Linked DNA regions of Homo sapiens: regions 2, 3, 4, 5 and 6 are each linked to region 1. Evidence: promoter capture Hi-C in 16 types of primary human blood cells and fetal thymus (Javierre and others, 2016). All regions are on one chromosome and are shown on one strand. The core of a region is centred on a gene start or on the middle of the fragment in contact, and the rest is flanking DNA. Distances in the headings are between cores, read along the strand shown.

Region 1 (2,605 bases), core at 50-2,549:
ATACTTAAAATGTTAACGCTGAAGCAGGGAAAGTAATGCCTTAAGGTGGGGGGAGGGGGGAGTCTTCCTACCATTTCACGGTTATAAGTACCTATCTCATACCTAGCAAGAAATATTTGCAAGTGATTTCTCCCTCTTCCCCCTTTTTAATGTTCGGATTTGGGTCGAGAAGACTTCTCATGAATCACCAATATGACTTTAACAATCATTGGATCGCAAGCTGCTATTATTATTTTAAACATTCTGCCCAAAGACTAATTGAAATAAACAAATCTATTTTTAAAAGGCAAGCTTCAGAAATTTGCTCTTAACCCATTTCAGAATTTAAGTCAGTTATGGGCTGCTCACTGTTTTACAGAAAGCTAAGGGTCAGAAAGAAGAATGAGGCAGAGGGGAAAAAAACTGTAAAGTGCTCAAAGCACTTTGGGGTAATAATTTGGCTTTTTTTTTTTTTTTTTTTTTTTTGCGAGAATGGGGGATGGGGTTGGAAGAAGCATCCACTAGGCAGAAAGCTACTTCCCTTGAAAATCTTCAGCACCCACATTTCCAAGTTTGGGCAAAGTTTCTGAAACCACGTCCCCCAGCCACCAAATAAAATTCAGTATCTCTCCCCCAAACCCCCAGGTTTTCTTTTCTTTCTTTCCTTTTTTTTTTTTAAGTATCCAAAAGATGTGGGAGGGAGAGAGATGAGACTGCAAATGGGTCGACTGAAATCTCCAGGCTACTACTGATACTTGTTCCCTTCTTCAGAGCCAAACAGAGGAGATCACATCTAAAGTTATCATGGCCAGAACTTGGAGCATTTAACCCTAACTACTAAGACCCCAGCTCGCTCCCTTTCCTTTTTCAAGATAACCGAGCTCCAAACTCAGTTCCCAGTCCTAAAGTGTCATTGCCTACAATTTTCCCACTCCTCTCCATCCCGGAGTCCCCAAGTTGGTTCAACATCTTCCGAGAGCAGCGTTGCTCAGAACAGACCAAGTGGAGACCACAGAAAAGTCGACCCCCCTGTCCTCAGCCAAGCCTCCCCAGCGCATCCCCACTCGCTTACCCTGGGCACTGCGGTCCTCCATGAACTGGCAGAGCAGCAGCAGCAGGAGGCAAAGCCCACCCGGCTGGTGCCTCGCGCGGACCATCCTGGGGGCAGGCGCGGGGCGAGGAGCGCAGCGGCGCGGGGAGCCGGCGCGGCGGCGGGTGGCTCGGGCGAGCGGCGCGCGTCGCAGAGGCCAGCGGCGGAGGGCGCAGCGATCCCGGCGCAGCCCCGCGCTCGCCGCCGGCCGCCCGCGCGATTCAATGGACGTCAGAAGCCGGGCGCAGCCGCGCTTTAAATCTAGACGGGGGTCTCCGCGGTTTGCGGTGGGCGGTCTCCCAGTGTGTGGGGCTGTGGGAGGGCGGCCGCGAGCGAGGGTGTGCGCGGCTCCTTGGGGGTGGGGAGCTTTCAAAAGTTCAGTGTGAATCAGGTGACATTTCCCACCTTCTGGAAACCCTTCCCAATTATCTTTCGGAGGTGCCCGAAATCAAAACGGCTGGAAGGGAATCGTCGAGTTCTTATTTGCGTAGGAGCGAGAGGGAGGGGGAAGGCGACCGGGGCGGGGGTTGGGGGCTACGCGTCGGGGGTGGGGAGTGGGGAAGAACACCCACTTCAAGTCCTGCTCGCCGCCGCTCGCCGGCAGCGCCGGCGCGCCCGGGGTGGCGGGTGTGTGTGTGAGTGTGTGTGTGAGTGTGTGTGCGCGCGCGCGCGAGTGTGAGAGGGAGGGCGCGGTGGGGGCGCTGGAGGCGGTGGCGGGGGGAACCCGGGAGTTTGTCTCCGTGCTGCCTCTCCTCCGCTCCAAAGAGACTTTTGCAAACGGCCGAAGAGCCCCGGGCTGCCCAAATATCCCGCCCCGGGTCGGGTCGGAGCGCGCCGGCCTCGCGGCGGTTCCGGGCACCCGCAGCCTGGGCGCGGGACCCGCGAGGTTTTGTGTCTGGGTCTGTGAGTGCCTGACTTTGCAGCCACCCCCAGCCCAGAGGTGTTGCTAGGAACCCCGGCCCCGGCACCTTCCACCCTGGCAGAGCGCTACCGAGACGCGGCCCTTCGTCTGGACTAGTCGGAAGCAAACAAAAATGTTTAACACCTCAGGCCCGGTCTCCCCGCGGCACAGCCTCGCCCTCTCCCTTTCTTTTCTCCCCTTTCACTTCGCGGCGTCTGGAGTCGGAGCCCGGAGCGGGGGCGCCGACGTAGGCGGTCTGGCCCCCCCTTCCTCTCCCGCCTGGAGACTCCCCAGTTTCTGTCCTGTGTGCCTCTGTCTGTCTCTCAGTCTCCTCGGCTCCAATCTCTCTCTCTTTCTGTCTCGTCTTCTCTCTTTTCGCGGAATAAAAAAGATTGCAACATCCATAATGAACTTCTGTAGCCTCAGTTTATTAAGTACAGTGCCTGGCATTCTTCGCTGAAAGTTGGCGGGTCTCTCATTTATAACATTTTTGGCACCGCTGAATGAAACTGAGGAGGCGATATTTCCTTTTATATAAAACGATTACTTCACGGAAAATGCTATATTGTTTATTCCAAAGCTGCCTTTTAAATTTGTTCTTTTCGCATCTGAAGCCCGAAGGACAACAGATAGCG
Region 2 (2,605 bases), core at 46-2,545, 460 kb before region 1:
TATTCCTGTGCTTCCACAGCTTCTAGTGCCACTGGTATGTCTGATGCCATCTTACATTTAAGGTCAAAAGATTCCTGAAGCCCCCACACAACTCAAACCCAACTTCTCCCCCATTGTTTTCCATCTCAGTCAAAGTAGCATCCTTCCCTCTCTTCCCCACCCACCCCACAATTTACCTAGTTCCCTGGCCCCAGTTTCTCTCAGTGCCCACATGAGCAAGACCAGTTGCCTTTATCTTCAAAATATATCCTGAACCTACAGTATTACCACCCTAGTCCAAGCAACCTGCAACCATTCCTCTCTGGATTCTTGTAATTGCTTCCTACCTGGCATCTCTGCTTCCATTCTTGCCCCTGCCCGCCCCATACTCTTTACATGGATTTTTTAAATAGATAAATCAGACTGTGCCACTTCCCTTCCCAGAGCCCTGCGGTGGTTTCTCATCATGAAAATAAATAGCTCTCCTGACCCAGGCCTTGCTTAGCTTTCTGACTTCCTTTTCTACTGCTGGAGACAGTTAGAGGTGAGCACCCTGTAGAGAGGTGGGCCCTCTATTAGGTGGAGGGGAGGGGAGGAAAGGGAGGAAGGGAGGGAAGAAAGCGAGAAAACACCAACAACTCAAAGAAGAATCACCACATAAACAACTGTGCCCACCAGGAACATGCATCTTGCCTGCTATTATCTAATAGTTGAGATGTGAAGTGGACTGGCAAATTTGTGGGTTCTGGTTATGGAGAACTGACCTAGGTTGATATTCATTCTGCCAGAGCCACTGGAATTTGTAGTTTCTGAAAAGACTTGTGTTATTTGGCAAAACCAGAATTGGGCATCATTTATCTTCATGTACTTAGCCAAAGCCCTAGAAAAACTTTTTTGATTCTTAAGAAAATGATCTAAACCCAATAATCCTTGCTTCGTTTATTTTTAACGACAGGCCCATTCTGTAGAGTTTTTCTGTATGAACTTACCCGACCTCCTGTAAAAAGAAAGATCTACCTTGGATATAGAAATTTATTTATTATCTGTTTCATTCTGTTCTTTTCTGAGAACAGCAAGTTTTCCACGTAGTTCTGTATACATAATCCTTTTTTTAAAGGATTGCAGGCACATTTTATTGTGAATTTGGCCATGGTTTAATGATGTATAATGTTGGATTTCTTCATATCTTAAATATTAAAAAAGCTTATACAGAAGTAAAGGGAAAGGGGAAGAAGGAGAAAAGTAGAAGAAGAGAATGACTAATGCTTTGGTTTAACAAATAACATTGTGAAATAAACCATTGATATTTTGTAAGGTAAAAATCTTTCAAATCTACTCATTATTATAATAATAAGTAATAAAATACTCATCTCACAGGCAGTTCAAAGGAACCCCATTGACTAAACTTGGTAATTAATTGGTAAGCTTTAATGGACAATATAATAAATATTTTTCTTGTAAAAGCTTGACCTAGTACAATTTTTGGTGAAACAGTTTGCTTTTACAGAATAATAAAACTACAAAGACATTTTGAGAATTAAGTCAGCTGCATGATGTGATCATTAAGCTATTTGCTATAAAATGTACATTCAAATTATTAGAAGTTCAAAAGAATTGATGACACATTAGAAATGTATTTTCTGTTTTTCATATGAAACATAAAAGCTCTAGAAGTTATGGGCATAAGTGAAGTATGCATGTTTCCTTCTCTCCCTTCTTAAAAAATCCATAATTGTTCTCTGTTTAAGCATAGAAAAATGCCATGTGACTTTTATTTCTCCAGAAAATTAGGAATAACCTGTGGGCATTTAAGGTTATACTAGAACATGCATAATGAGTGAATTCCTATTAATTCCATGTTATATTGAGGAAAAATGCTTCAAATATACGTAACTTCCACCAGAGTAGTTAGCTTTTTCTTAGCTATATTTGGAACTTTGATTACTACTCTTAATCTCTTTCAAAGTTTAATTTTATTAAATTGCTCAAAGGTAGAGACAAAAGGTTATGGTGTTTTTCTTTTTTCTTTCAGCAAATGAAGAAAATACAAATTTGCTACATGCCTATGGGAATTAAGCAGTATCATAGCACTGGTTGGTCTAGTTTTAAAACTTCAGGACTGCCGGGCGCGGTGGTTCACGCCTGTAATCCCAGCACTTTGGGAGGCCAAGGTGGGCGGATGACGGGGTCAGGAGATCAAGACCATCCTGGCTAACACGGTGAAACCCCGTCTCTACTAAAAATACCAGAAAAATTAGCCGTGGCAGGCACCTGTAGTCCCAGCTACTCGGGAGGCTGAGGCAGGAGAATGGCGTGAACCAGGGAGGCGGAGCTTGCAGTGAGCCGAGATCGCGCCTCTGCACTCCAGCCTGGGCGACAGAGCGAGGCTCCGTCTCAAAAAAAAAAAAAAAAAAGTTCAGGACTTTATTTTCAAGCAAAAATCAAAGTTGTTTGTTGTTGTTGTTGTTGTTGTTGTTGTTTTTTCTGGATAACACCTAAGTTACAAACGTCTGTTCATATTTGTTTGAATCAGTGTTTAATTTTATTCTTTTATGATTATTAATCTACAGATTTCAAATGTAAGGAACATTGGAATAGTGAGTGATGTAGCAGCTAACTTTCTTTT
Region 3 (2,605 bases), core at 77-2,576, 440 kb before region 1:
TGACATGCTCAAGAATATACCAGAACCGAAAGAATTTCATTTAGGTTGAAAAGAATCAGTTTAGGTTACTAGTAAAGGAGATGCCTTTAGGTAAATCATGCTTATTTGAGAAAGCTTTGTGCATTTGACAACCTATTATATTTGTGCATCTGACAACATCCAGCAATTATACAGGATGTATAATTCATCTCTAGAACTCAAAGATCATTTTACCAAGTAGCCCTTCACCGACAAGGAGGCAGTGGGGTGGGGACAGGGAACAGCCTGCCCTTCTGAAGCAACTGCGTCATATTTTATGCAGATGTAAAGTTTTATGATCTTAGCAAAAATCAGACCACAAATACAAACTTGTGTTTCAAGTTGGAGAGGCAAAAGGACTTTGTTTCTGGTGTGGGAGGTGATTGTTTGTTTGTTTTGAGTTTCAGGAGTTCCATCCTGACTCACCCTTACCAATGGCAGCCATTGAAGACCAGAGCCCGAATCGTGAAGAGGCAGTCATTCTCCAAAACTTGCTTGCCCTGAGTTTGAAGTTCCCTGTCACTTGAGAAGACTTCTTTAGGGTGTAGATTATAGACTTGCCTCAGAAAGGCCACTTTTTAAAAATTAATCATCAAAATAAATGAAAGCGTGTATAGGTCACTTCTGTTTTCTGTATAAGTTTCTCAGAACATGCTCTGTATACACTGGTTATTCAATAAATGTCAGTCAGTCAGCAGCATTTATGGAGTGCTGCTCTACTTGAAATGCTCATAAAGGAAAGTGAAAGTCCCCAGGGGAATAGACAGTTTTCAGATTGTTTTTCTCTTGTGTTTCTGGTTCAGGATCTACACAGCTCAGTTGTCAGCACAGATGGAAAAGTGGCTGTCCTTTTCCTATGGAGCTGTTGTTCACAAGTCAAGCAATATTCCATCAATACATCACTACAGATGTACCACTTGTTAAAATATTGACGTACTGGCCTATCCATTTGAATGCCACCTGTTTCCTCCCCGCTGGGACCTCTTGGGCTGCTCCACAATTTCACAACCAAAGCAGTAATTCCTGGCTTGGTAGAGAGCCTCTAGAACTGCACTACAGCACTGCCACCAACGTTCATTCTGGTTGGTTAGTGTCCATGACATACTCCATCTTTAATATCTTAAATGTTCCTCTTGTACTAAACATTATCTACACAGAAAGTTAGGGGACATTCAAGAATGATGCCTCAAAGCTGATACAGTCATTGTCATTTAAAAAATAAGAAGACATTCAAAGACTAAATGAACTGGTACAGTGATCCTTTTACGGTGAACTATTGGATTCTTCTCCTGGTCCTAGGGCAGAGACCAGGCCTGAATCTTGTTTGTATCCTCGTTACTAAACACAGGCAAGGGAACAGTGAATGTTAATTGAACTAAACGGAACTGAATGTAGACTTCAGACTTAAAGGAGAGAATGGAAGCTGAGATGGCCATACCAGAAACACAAACTAAGGCATACCAGAAGACAGTCTTTTCATTACCAAGTGGCTGCCAGCTGAGGGTCAGTAATTAACTGACAAAACACATGGTGCTACACTACAAGTTAAGTAAAACAGGAAGTAGTTTGATGAGCAGATATTGATGGATATACCTTGTCACTAAGGTACATATTGCTTTCAAGGTGTACATTAACTTTCAGTGCATAGCTCTGGTATGTCTGCAAAACTGAATTCTAGAACTGAATTAGACATTTTTTGTTTTAAAAGGGAAAGAAATCTGAATAGCTCAGTGTTGAGAATCAATATGATGGCACATAGTGATTGTCAAACTGCTCATTCCTGGTAACCCCAGCCTTGCTTTAGTCAGAGCAGTCTGCTTTTAATGATTTTTTGTTTTGTTTTGTTTTGAGACAGGGTCTCTCTCTGTCACCCAGGCTGGAGTGCAGTGGCACAATCTCGGCTCACTGCAACATCCGCCTCCTGGGTTCAAGTAATCCTCCCACCTCAGCCTCCCAAGTAGCTGGGACTACTGGCGCACTCCACCACACCCAGCTAAGTTTTGTATTTTTAGTAGAGACAGGTTTTGCCATGTTGGCCAGGCTGGTCTTGAACTCCTGACCTCAAGTGATCCACCTGCCTTGTGCTTTTAGTGTTTTATACGCATTATTCTGTCACTCCCTGAGTGAAATCATCTGCAAAAATTAGTTCATGTTAATTTTTACTATTCTCCACATAATTAATGGGAAAATAAAATGTTTCTATTACTGGAACATAAGTTCAAGGTTAAAAGGGGAAATGTCTAACACATAGGTTTTTGTACTTACATACTTACAATAGCTATAGGGGGGACAGTATACCCATAGGTAAGAACATGGGTCCTAAAGTTTCACTGACCAAGGGCAGAATGTCAGTTTCTTCACCTGTTAGCTGCTTGCTCTTGAACAAGTGACTTACCTCTCTGAGCCTCTGTTCCTATATGAGTTAAATGCAGGTGATAATACATTACCTGACAGAGCCGTAATGAGAATTAAGTGATGAAATGTTTCTGTATTAGAGTAATACAGTTGCTATAAAGCTTACATTCTCGATGTCTTGCCACTGTAGGTCACCTCACAGTGCAATATGGTCAGTGGGGGCACTCTGCTC
Region 4 (2,605 bases), core at 43-2,542, 400 kb before region 1:
TCACTTCTAAGCTGGGAATCTAACCTTCATTCCTAGGTTTATTTCTAGTGTAGGCAATTAGCAGTTATCAACTTCCTAAGCATCTCAGTCCTATCCAAGTAAATGTGAACAGAACTGTAAGATTTTGAAGCAAATGGGGTTTTCTTCATGTCCATATTGCATATTCAGACTTGAATGGAAATCTAATATTCGTGCCTGGCTTCATCCTCTTTATAACTTTAGAGTGCATTTTCATTAACCTCCTGACCTAATGGCGCAAACAGAAATGAAAAGGTATGTAGGGTGGTGGGGCTGGAAGTGGGAGTTGCCCTTTGGGATCCCTCATTTTCAATGCATTTGGAAGGGAGGGTCTGTGTTTGTTATGCAGAAACTTTAGAATGTAGAGTCCCTGTCTTGTTCCCCAGCCTGGGTCCTGGAGATCTGAAGTTCATGCTGTAAAATGCATTACCACATCATGTTGGGAATTCCTGGCTCCCAAGGGCTCACAGCATTTGGTCACCAGTGAATCAGCATGTTTAAATTATGTGCATCTCAGGGTTAAATGTTTTTCAACTCAGATGCATGAAGTGACTGATGAGCCCAAGGTTTGGCACCCTACCCCACACCCCCTTGTACTAATTTAGGAACATGAAAAGGATCCCTTAGAAGCCTCAGATGGGATGTCAGTTTCTCCTCCCCTTTCCTATTCTCTTTGAATTAAAGCTTTAAATGACAAACTTTTCTTCCACCCACTGTCTCATCAGATCTGGAAATTCTGACTTCCCTTCCTGGGGTTTCATCTGTTTGTAACAACTTCTCCATAATGTGACTTACTGTGAAACCAAGCAAAGAAGTTAAAAGTCACAAAGAAGAATCTCTCCAATACGCCCTGTCTAGCATCTTCCTTTCCTTATGAAACAAAGAGAAATTCAAAGCCCATGATTTCTCTATCAGATTTTTCTCTATAATCTCATCTCACATGCCATCTCTGCTCTGCAAAGCATATTGTATTCACTGGCTCCTGGTTTAGAAAGGCCAACTACAGGGTTCTTAGGCTTAGCCTGCCCCTTCCCTTTCTTGCTGTACTTCTCAAGTCCTGACTGCACACAGGAATTTCCACAGGGCATTCTAGATGAATAATCACTTTCTACAAGGGAATAGTGTGGGCCTGGTGGCTTTCAAAGAAACTTCACTTACCATATATGCCTTGTAAGTCACTTGTACCCTGTTGGGAGAATAAAGAAAGTGGTTTCTAGATGTAATGCCTTGCTAGGCTCAGCCAGGTTTATAATCCAGTCCAACTCCTTATCCCCACTGCTCCAGCTAGACATAGACCAACGTGGGTACAGCCATTCCACCACACTTTTAAAAAACGATCTTCTGCTAACTACTAGATAATGGTGAATTCCCTTTTTCCTTCCTTCTTTTTCAAAAATCTCTTCCTTTTATCTGATGATCTCAAAGAATCCTACATAAATGTTTCAGCCTAGTTTTCTTCTAGCAGCAACATTTCAACCATGGAGGTGAGTTGGCAATGTAGTCCCCAGAGATGCTAACCTGGCTCAGGCCCAAGGGAACAAATCAAAATGAGGCTTGAATAAGCACCAGGTTCCCCAGACTCTCTCATTTTCCTGTTTCTTCATGGAATATAGGGAGGCGGAGGGAGCTGGTTATTTCAAAAAGCCTAAGATCACTTCCATCACAGGCAAACCCCTCCTGAAAGTGTGAAATCCAGCCTACAATGGACTTTCACCGACAAGTGATTCATTGAGACAAAGGCTAGAGTTCCAGCATCAAACAGATGTCAGACAAAGCACCAAACGCCTATAAATGATTGCTTTGCAAGCAAGGGAATGACTGGAAGACCTGGCCTAATGATGTACCCCATGTCTGGACAAGCTTACAGAAGATGGTGGTGGAGGGAGCTGGTTTTTTTTTTTTTTTGAGACGGAGTCTCGCTCTGTCGCCCAGGCTGGAGTGCAGTGGCGGGATCTCGGCTCACTGCAAGCTCCGCCTCCCGGGTTCACGCCATTCTCCTGCCTCAGCCTCCCAAGTAGCTGGGACTACAGGCGCCCGCCACTACGCCCGGCTAATTTTTTGTATTTTTAGTAGAGACGGGGTTTCACCGTTTTAGCCGGGATGGTCTCGATCTCCTGACCTCGTGATCCGCCCGCCTCGGCCTCCCAAAGTGCTGGGATTACAGGCGTGAGCCACCGCGCCCGGCCGGGAGCTGGTTTTAAACAGAGTCTGTGAAGAAAGCTGTTTCTGGAGAGAGAAGTAAGACCACAATTCTTACCTGAGAGGTTCATGTTGAAATGAATGATTTCTGGCCAGTTTGCGTATAATCTGTGTAAAGGTAAATCAGAAAAATGTGTGTCCAGGGCACCTTGAAGGCCAGAGTGATGTGGTATGATATTAAATCATTAGACATATAAATATTAAAAATGAGAAGATTTTGTTAGAATGGAAACGGCTCACCAAAAGGCAGAGACAAGAATGCAAACAGTAAGTCTAGCTGTCATTCTCTGTAATCTGGAGCAAGTCAGGTTTGTCTCTGGACCTTCTCCAGTTGTTTTACAACTTTCTAGACATGCAGTGTATCAACCCAACACTTTTATTAAGCAGC
Region 5 (2,605 bases), core at 39-2,538, 380 kb before region 1:
ACAGTTTCGTTGCTGGAGATAGAAATATGACATTTTGGGCCATTTATGGACAATTGAAATATGTACAACGGTGTGACAGCAAGGCCCCTCCAAGGGGATAAGCTGCAATAGCTTCCCACACCATAAGTGACAGCCACTGGCATGCTAGGATCAGGTCATACTCCTGAGATGCCAGTTCCTTCAGTCCTCAGAGTATAGGGGTGCAGTCTGGGGCCAGCTCCCATAGGTGGAGAGCAGCCTCATTACTCCTATATGCCATGCAATTATCATCATTTTCTGTATGTGATGGAAAATGACATTAAAAAATTAGGGACACTAGGCCGGGCGCAGTGGCTCACACCTGTAATCCCAGCACTTTGGGAGGCTGAGGCAGGCAGATCACCTGAGGTCAAGAGTTCGAGACCAGCCTGGCCAACATGGTGAAACCTCGTCTCTATTAAAAATACAAAAATCAGCTGGCCGTGGTGGCACACGTCTGCAGTCCCAGCTACTTGGGAGGCTGAGGCAGGAGGATCCCTTGAACTTAGGAGGTGGAGTTTGCAGTGAGCCGAGATTGCACCACTGTACTCCAGGCTGGGCAACAGAGAGAGACTCAGTCTGAAAAAAAAAATATTTTGGGACACCCTCGGTGAGAATTAGTAGCTCTAGGTCAATCTAGCCACTTTGTGGATACATGATTTTTAGAAACCTTTTCAGCCAAATTTTCACTGGATCCTGGCTTTACTGTTTTGTTATACACATTTTCCATTTGTCCTGAATCCTTCACTTACTACATTTTATTGGAGTTTCTGTAAATCACCTTAAATTTCTTGTAGAAAGTCAGAAGCAATTGAGGCAAGTTTTGACTGTAATTACAAGTGAGTTTATTGAGTTTATTAAGCTGGGAGCATTGACATATGAATGAAGAAACAGAATGTAGTATATATACATGGTGGAATATCATTTAGCCTTTAAAAAGGACCATGCTACAAGATGGATGAAGCTTGGTAACATTACGCTAAGTGAAATAAGCCACAAAAAGACACATGCTATATAATTCCACTTATATGAGCTATCCAGAATAGTCAAACTCATAGAAATAGAAAGTAGAATGGTGGTTGCCAGGGGATGGGAAGGGTGGTAAAATGGGCAGTTTTTGTTTAATGGGTAGAGAGTTTCAGTTTTGCAAGATGAAAATGTTTTAGAGATTGGGTGCACAACAATGTGAATATACTTAACATTACTGAAATGTACACTTAAAGATTGTTAAGAGGGTAAATTTTATATTATGTGTATTTACCTCAATTTTAAAAAAAGAACATATAGTAAAATTGTGCTATTTACTCTAAACAGAGGCTTCAGTTAAGCTGTTGCAAGATGTGCTATTGCTGTGGTGTTGGAAGCATAAAACATACTACCTGACTGCTACATTGTTTCTTACGGTGAATCACAAAGTCCTGTTGATTCTCCCAGCAAAACATCTTCTGACTAGGGCTGACTACATCATTCATGGAGTCCAGAGCAAAATGAAAATTCAGTCCTTTATTCAAAAACCAGTACTCCTGAAAGTACCAAAATATAAAGTTTTTTCCTTTATTCTATGTAAAAAGCTTGTTTTCAACTTGCCACGGTGTTTTTTATTTGCAATTTACTATCTTTCTAAGTAAAGAAAAATTTAAACTTGAAATTTTACCATTCATTTTTATAATGTACAAGGCCATTTTTAAATGCAAATATAAAAGCTACCTTTTATATAAAATTGCCAAAATAACATAGTTTATATTTTGTAGCTCACAAATGCACTTGAGTTTCAGGTTCTTACCAGAATGGTGAAAACACTGTATAAAAGGAACTCACAGGTTTTTTTTTTTAAATCTTTTAATTGTCATTTTATAGCTCCCCACCACAGCTGCCCCCCACCCTTCCCTTTGATGACAACGTTTGCAGGCTTCAGGGGGACCAGAGAACAAAGCTGGGGCCTGGCAGCCCCACTACGCTGCCAGCCGAGGAGAACAAGTCACAATTACAAATTATCACAACAATTAGCTCCTGTACTTGGGGGATCAGCAAATTAAGGAGGCCCCAGCTCCTCATTGTACAGGGGGCTATTTGGCAGTGACCTTGCTCTGGAGACGATGATATTCCTTCAGCCTGAGGGAATTGATGTTGATGAACCCGGTGGCATCAATTGACTGATAATCACCCTGCACGTTCATGCTCACCGGCTCCTCCTTGTAGAGAGACAGTGGGGACTCCTGGCCAAGGATGTACACCTGGCCCTCGAGGACGGACACCTGCACTTTCCCTTCCACTTGCTCCTGGGACTTGGCGATGCAGTGGCAGACAAATTCACACTCAGGGCTGTACCAGAAACCGGTATCCACCAGCTCAACAAATTTCAAGCCCAGGCCTTGTTTGATTTTGCGCACTTCCTGGCCCATGGTGAAGGCCTTGGTGTCTAAATGAGCGAGGTAAAGGATGGTGCTTGCTGGGGCCTGGTAGATCCCTCGGGACTTCATTCCAATGAAGCGGTTCTCCATGATGTCAATACAGCCCACACCCTGCTTGCCCACGACTTCGTTCAGGTACATGAAGAGCTCCAATGAGGTCTGGTGGGTGGTGCCAT
Region 6 (2,605 bases), core at 79-2,578, 340 kb before region 1:
CACCAACCACAACAACAAGCCAAGTTTGATCCTTCACTAAGGGTGGCCATATATTTCTAGCTTATGCCCGTTGTCCTCATATAATTGTTAATTGTTAATAGCACCCTCTTTTATTCTCAGAGAAGCATAAGTTTTACAATAGTCAGAGGCAAGGAGGTTTTTGTGAATCCTCTGTTAGAGAAGCTCCCAAATGGCACAGTTTGTGTTCTCAACATTTTATACAGGGGCAGAGAAACCCAATTTTAAATTTAGAAACCTAAATTAACCAAAGGGAAGGCTATTGATTGATTGATATAACCAAAGTAGGGAAAAGGCAGTGGGTAGAGCGTTTCAGCAACCACTGGATTCAGAATCTCAAGTGTTAGAGAACTCACTTCTTCTCTCTTCGTTTCCTTTTTTTGTTGTTGTTGTTGTTTTGTCTCTGTTTCTCTGTGTTAAACTTATTCCCTTAGACTTGCCCCTATGAAGCTGGAAGCTTCAACACTAACACCAGTCCTAGGCCTACATCCTCAAAGCTTCAGAACCACAAAACTCAGAGGGCTCTTAAAGGGAATATCTTAGGAAAGAGCCTATTGACTATGGTTCGGTCGTATGCCCATCACTGGACCATTCACTGTGGCCAAAGCATTAGGAACTATGGTTGGCAGCCCCATCAGAATCCTACTAAAAAGAGGACAGTGCTGTTCCAGGCAAACAAAGCAACAAATGCCCACCACATAGAGCTCTTTCAGTGTTTAACCATCAGCCAATTTTCTCCAGAAGTGAGACCTGAGTCCAGTTGGGGAATGTCATAAAATAAAAGCAGTATGTGGTCCAACATTCCTCCTTCCCATTCTACAACTAGGATTTTTCTGACTGAGGCAAACTCTTCCTGATCCTTGATCCCTTCACTCATCCTATAGGGTCCACAGTTCTTACGCACGTTGGCTTGGTTAGGCTGCCCTAGCTGTTCACTGGACCCCCAGTGGTGGGCATAGCTTAGGCACAAGCTTAAAGATATCATTATATATATTAGCAAAACCAAACAGGATTAGGGAAACATGTACATTACATCCCGGACAAATCCTGAGTAGGTTCTTGAAATTAAACCATATGACTTCTTAGACCTACAGTTTGCATTCTGAAGACAAGCCAGTGGGATTCATACTCAGGGTAAGAAACCCTCCCCCGTGTGTGTGTGTGTGTGTGTGTGTGTGTGTGTGTGTGTGTGTGTGTGTATGTAAACCAGGATGCAAATGGTACATTTATTGGCTTCAGGCCCAAATGTTATTCACAGAAAAGAAAAGCTGATTCCTGCTCTGATATAAACTTGAACATTATTTTTCTGTTCATGGAAAATTCTATTTTTCTTTAGCATTGTTACTTAACCAAAAGACTTTTAGAAAATTGCAGCAGTGCTTTGAAGCACTCCGTGAAGTTGAGCTATTTCAGGCCTGTTCCAGAATAGGTTGTATGCCCATGTGGGTTTCCATATCTGCAGTGGATCTTCCATATCTGCAGTGGTGTTTTGGTTGACATTTAGGATCTTTTCAAGCTCATGGTTTTCATGAGTACACAGATGAAGCCAATTCACTTTGTGAAATCCACCTAGTTTAAAATTCCTTTCATCTCCTCTCAAACATATTTGAGAAAGTCATTACAAATCAAGAGACCAATGTGAAGCTTAAAATGCATTTTCTTAAATGTCCTTCAAAAAGAGATTATGTTTTGGACATAATGTTTTGGACTAAACCAGGAGGTGAACTGCTGAGCATCCAGAAGTTTCTAGAGGGTACAGCATTGTAGGTTTGTTATGTTTGGAAAACAGTGGCCTGGACTATTTGTATGCAGGCGGGGATATCCCCTTACTGGGGAGTGAGCACTCATCCTCAAAGCCATTTGCATGTTCTGCACCTTTCTGAACCCTTCCCAGTGCCAAGTCCAAAATGAGTCATGAGACTGACTGCATGCACCATATGGTAAACCTGAGAACCATCCCTCTACTGAAGGACGCACACCAGGGCATGATTTGTTTAAGGCTACACAACTTCTGCCGAAAGATGACTTTGCCACAGCTTTTAAACATATGATGCAAGTTTTGTGCTGTGAAAAGTCCCCACTTACAGTTTAAGTATTTTTGTTCAGAGGAATAAAAGAAAACAAATACGTAAGTCCTAATACAGGGCCTGTTTATAGCAATGGATCAGGCAGATCTCACTTCCCTTACTACATCCCTGACTGCTTCTAGCTGCATTAATTAGCTTAAAGGGGCTTCAGGGCTACTTGGTAATGAAAACAGCCATACCTTATGCAATTAATTATATAGAACAGTTACTTAGCTTCCATTTTTCTGCACCCCTCATGGTACTGACTTTCCACTTTCTGTTTTCATTTTTAGAAAATAAGTTGCTATGAAACTTACATCTATTGACTTTGAGGATGCTTCTAGAAAATCATTTGAATATTTTTAAAACCAAAGATTTCTATATTTCTGCTAACTTTTTAAAGAGGAGCCCAAGTCTGAGAGACACAGAAACCCAACTCTAATTATATCTGTGGTGCCTGGGAGACATCCCCAGCTTAGATGAGTAAATGTGAAAAGAGAAAACAATCATAGGCAATTAGC

The links. The method cuts DNA at HindIII sites, captures the fragments that hold promoters and counts their contacts. A CHiCAGO score of 5 or more calls a contact.
Region 2: a contact is called between a fragment that was not itself captured here and the fragment with the promoter of FST in region 1, in 3 of 17 cell types (M2 macrophages, megakaryocytes and M1 macrophages). The highest score is 7.6, in M2 macrophages.
Region 3: a fragment that was not itself captured here is called in contact with the fragment with the promoter of FST in region 1 in 1 of 17 cell types (endothelial precursors); the score reaches 5.2 in endothelial precursors.
Region 4: a contact is called between a fragment that was not itself captured here and the fragment with the promoter of FST in region 1, in 6 of 17 cell types (megakaryocytes, M2 macrophages, M0 macrophages and 3 more). The highest score is 10.8, in megakaryocytes.
Region 5: a contact is called between a fragment that was not itself captured here and the fragment with the promoter of FST in region 1, in 2 of 17 cell types (megakaryocytes and endothelial precursors). The highest score is 9.4, in megakaryocytes.
Region 6: a fragment that was not itself captured here is called in contact with the fragment with the promoter of FST in region 1 in 2 of 17 cell types (megakaryocytes and erythroblasts); the score reaches 6.7 in megakaryocytes.

Annotation. Positions count from the first base shown.
Region 1 is chr5:53,479,323-53,481,927 of GRCh38, reverse strand. It overlaps FST (follistatin), which reads right to left and starts at 1,299. Exons shown (of 6, transcript NM_013409.3): 1 at 1,052-1,299. The coding sequence starts at 1,136. RefSeq lists an enhancer at 1-66. The HindIII fragment of the contact is 5,217 bases long and covers 294-2,605 here.
Region 2 is chr5:53,939,767-53,942,371 of GRCh38, reverse strand. All of the region lies in intron 4 of ARL15 (ARF like GTPase 15), which reads left to right. Among named protein-coding and RNA genes, the nearest start is that of MIR581, 11 kb to the left of the region's middle. The HindIII fragment of the contact is 222 bases long and covers 1,185-1,406 here.
Region 3 is chr5:53,921,033-53,923,637 of GRCh38, reverse strand. All of the region lies in intron 4 of ARL15 (ARF like GTPase 15), which reads left to right. Among named protein-coding and RNA genes, the nearest start is that of MIR581, 29 kb to the left of the region's middle. The HindIII fragment of the contact is 2,420 bases long and covers 117-2,536 here.
Region 4 is chr5:53,880,711-53,883,315 of GRCh38, reverse strand. No RefSeq gene overlaps it. Among named protein-coding and RNA genes, the nearest start is that of LINC02105, 62 kb to the right of the region's middle. RefSeq lists an enhancer at 1-1,114. The HindIII fragment of the contact is 1,176 bases long and covers 705-1,880 here.
Region 5 is chr5:53,859,881-53,862,485 of GRCh38, reverse strand. It overlaps the pseudogene ASS1P9. Among named protein-coding and RNA genes, the nearest start is that of LINC02105, 42 kb to the right of the region's middle. RefSeq lists a silencer at 492-700. The HindIII fragment of the contact is 607 bases long and covers 985-1,591 here.
Region 6 is chr5:53,820,304-53,822,908 of GRCh38, reverse strand. No RefSeq gene overlaps it. Among named protein-coding and RNA genes, the nearest start is that of LINC02105, 1.9 kb to the right of the region's middle. The HindIII fragment of the contact is 673 bases long and covers 992-1,664 here.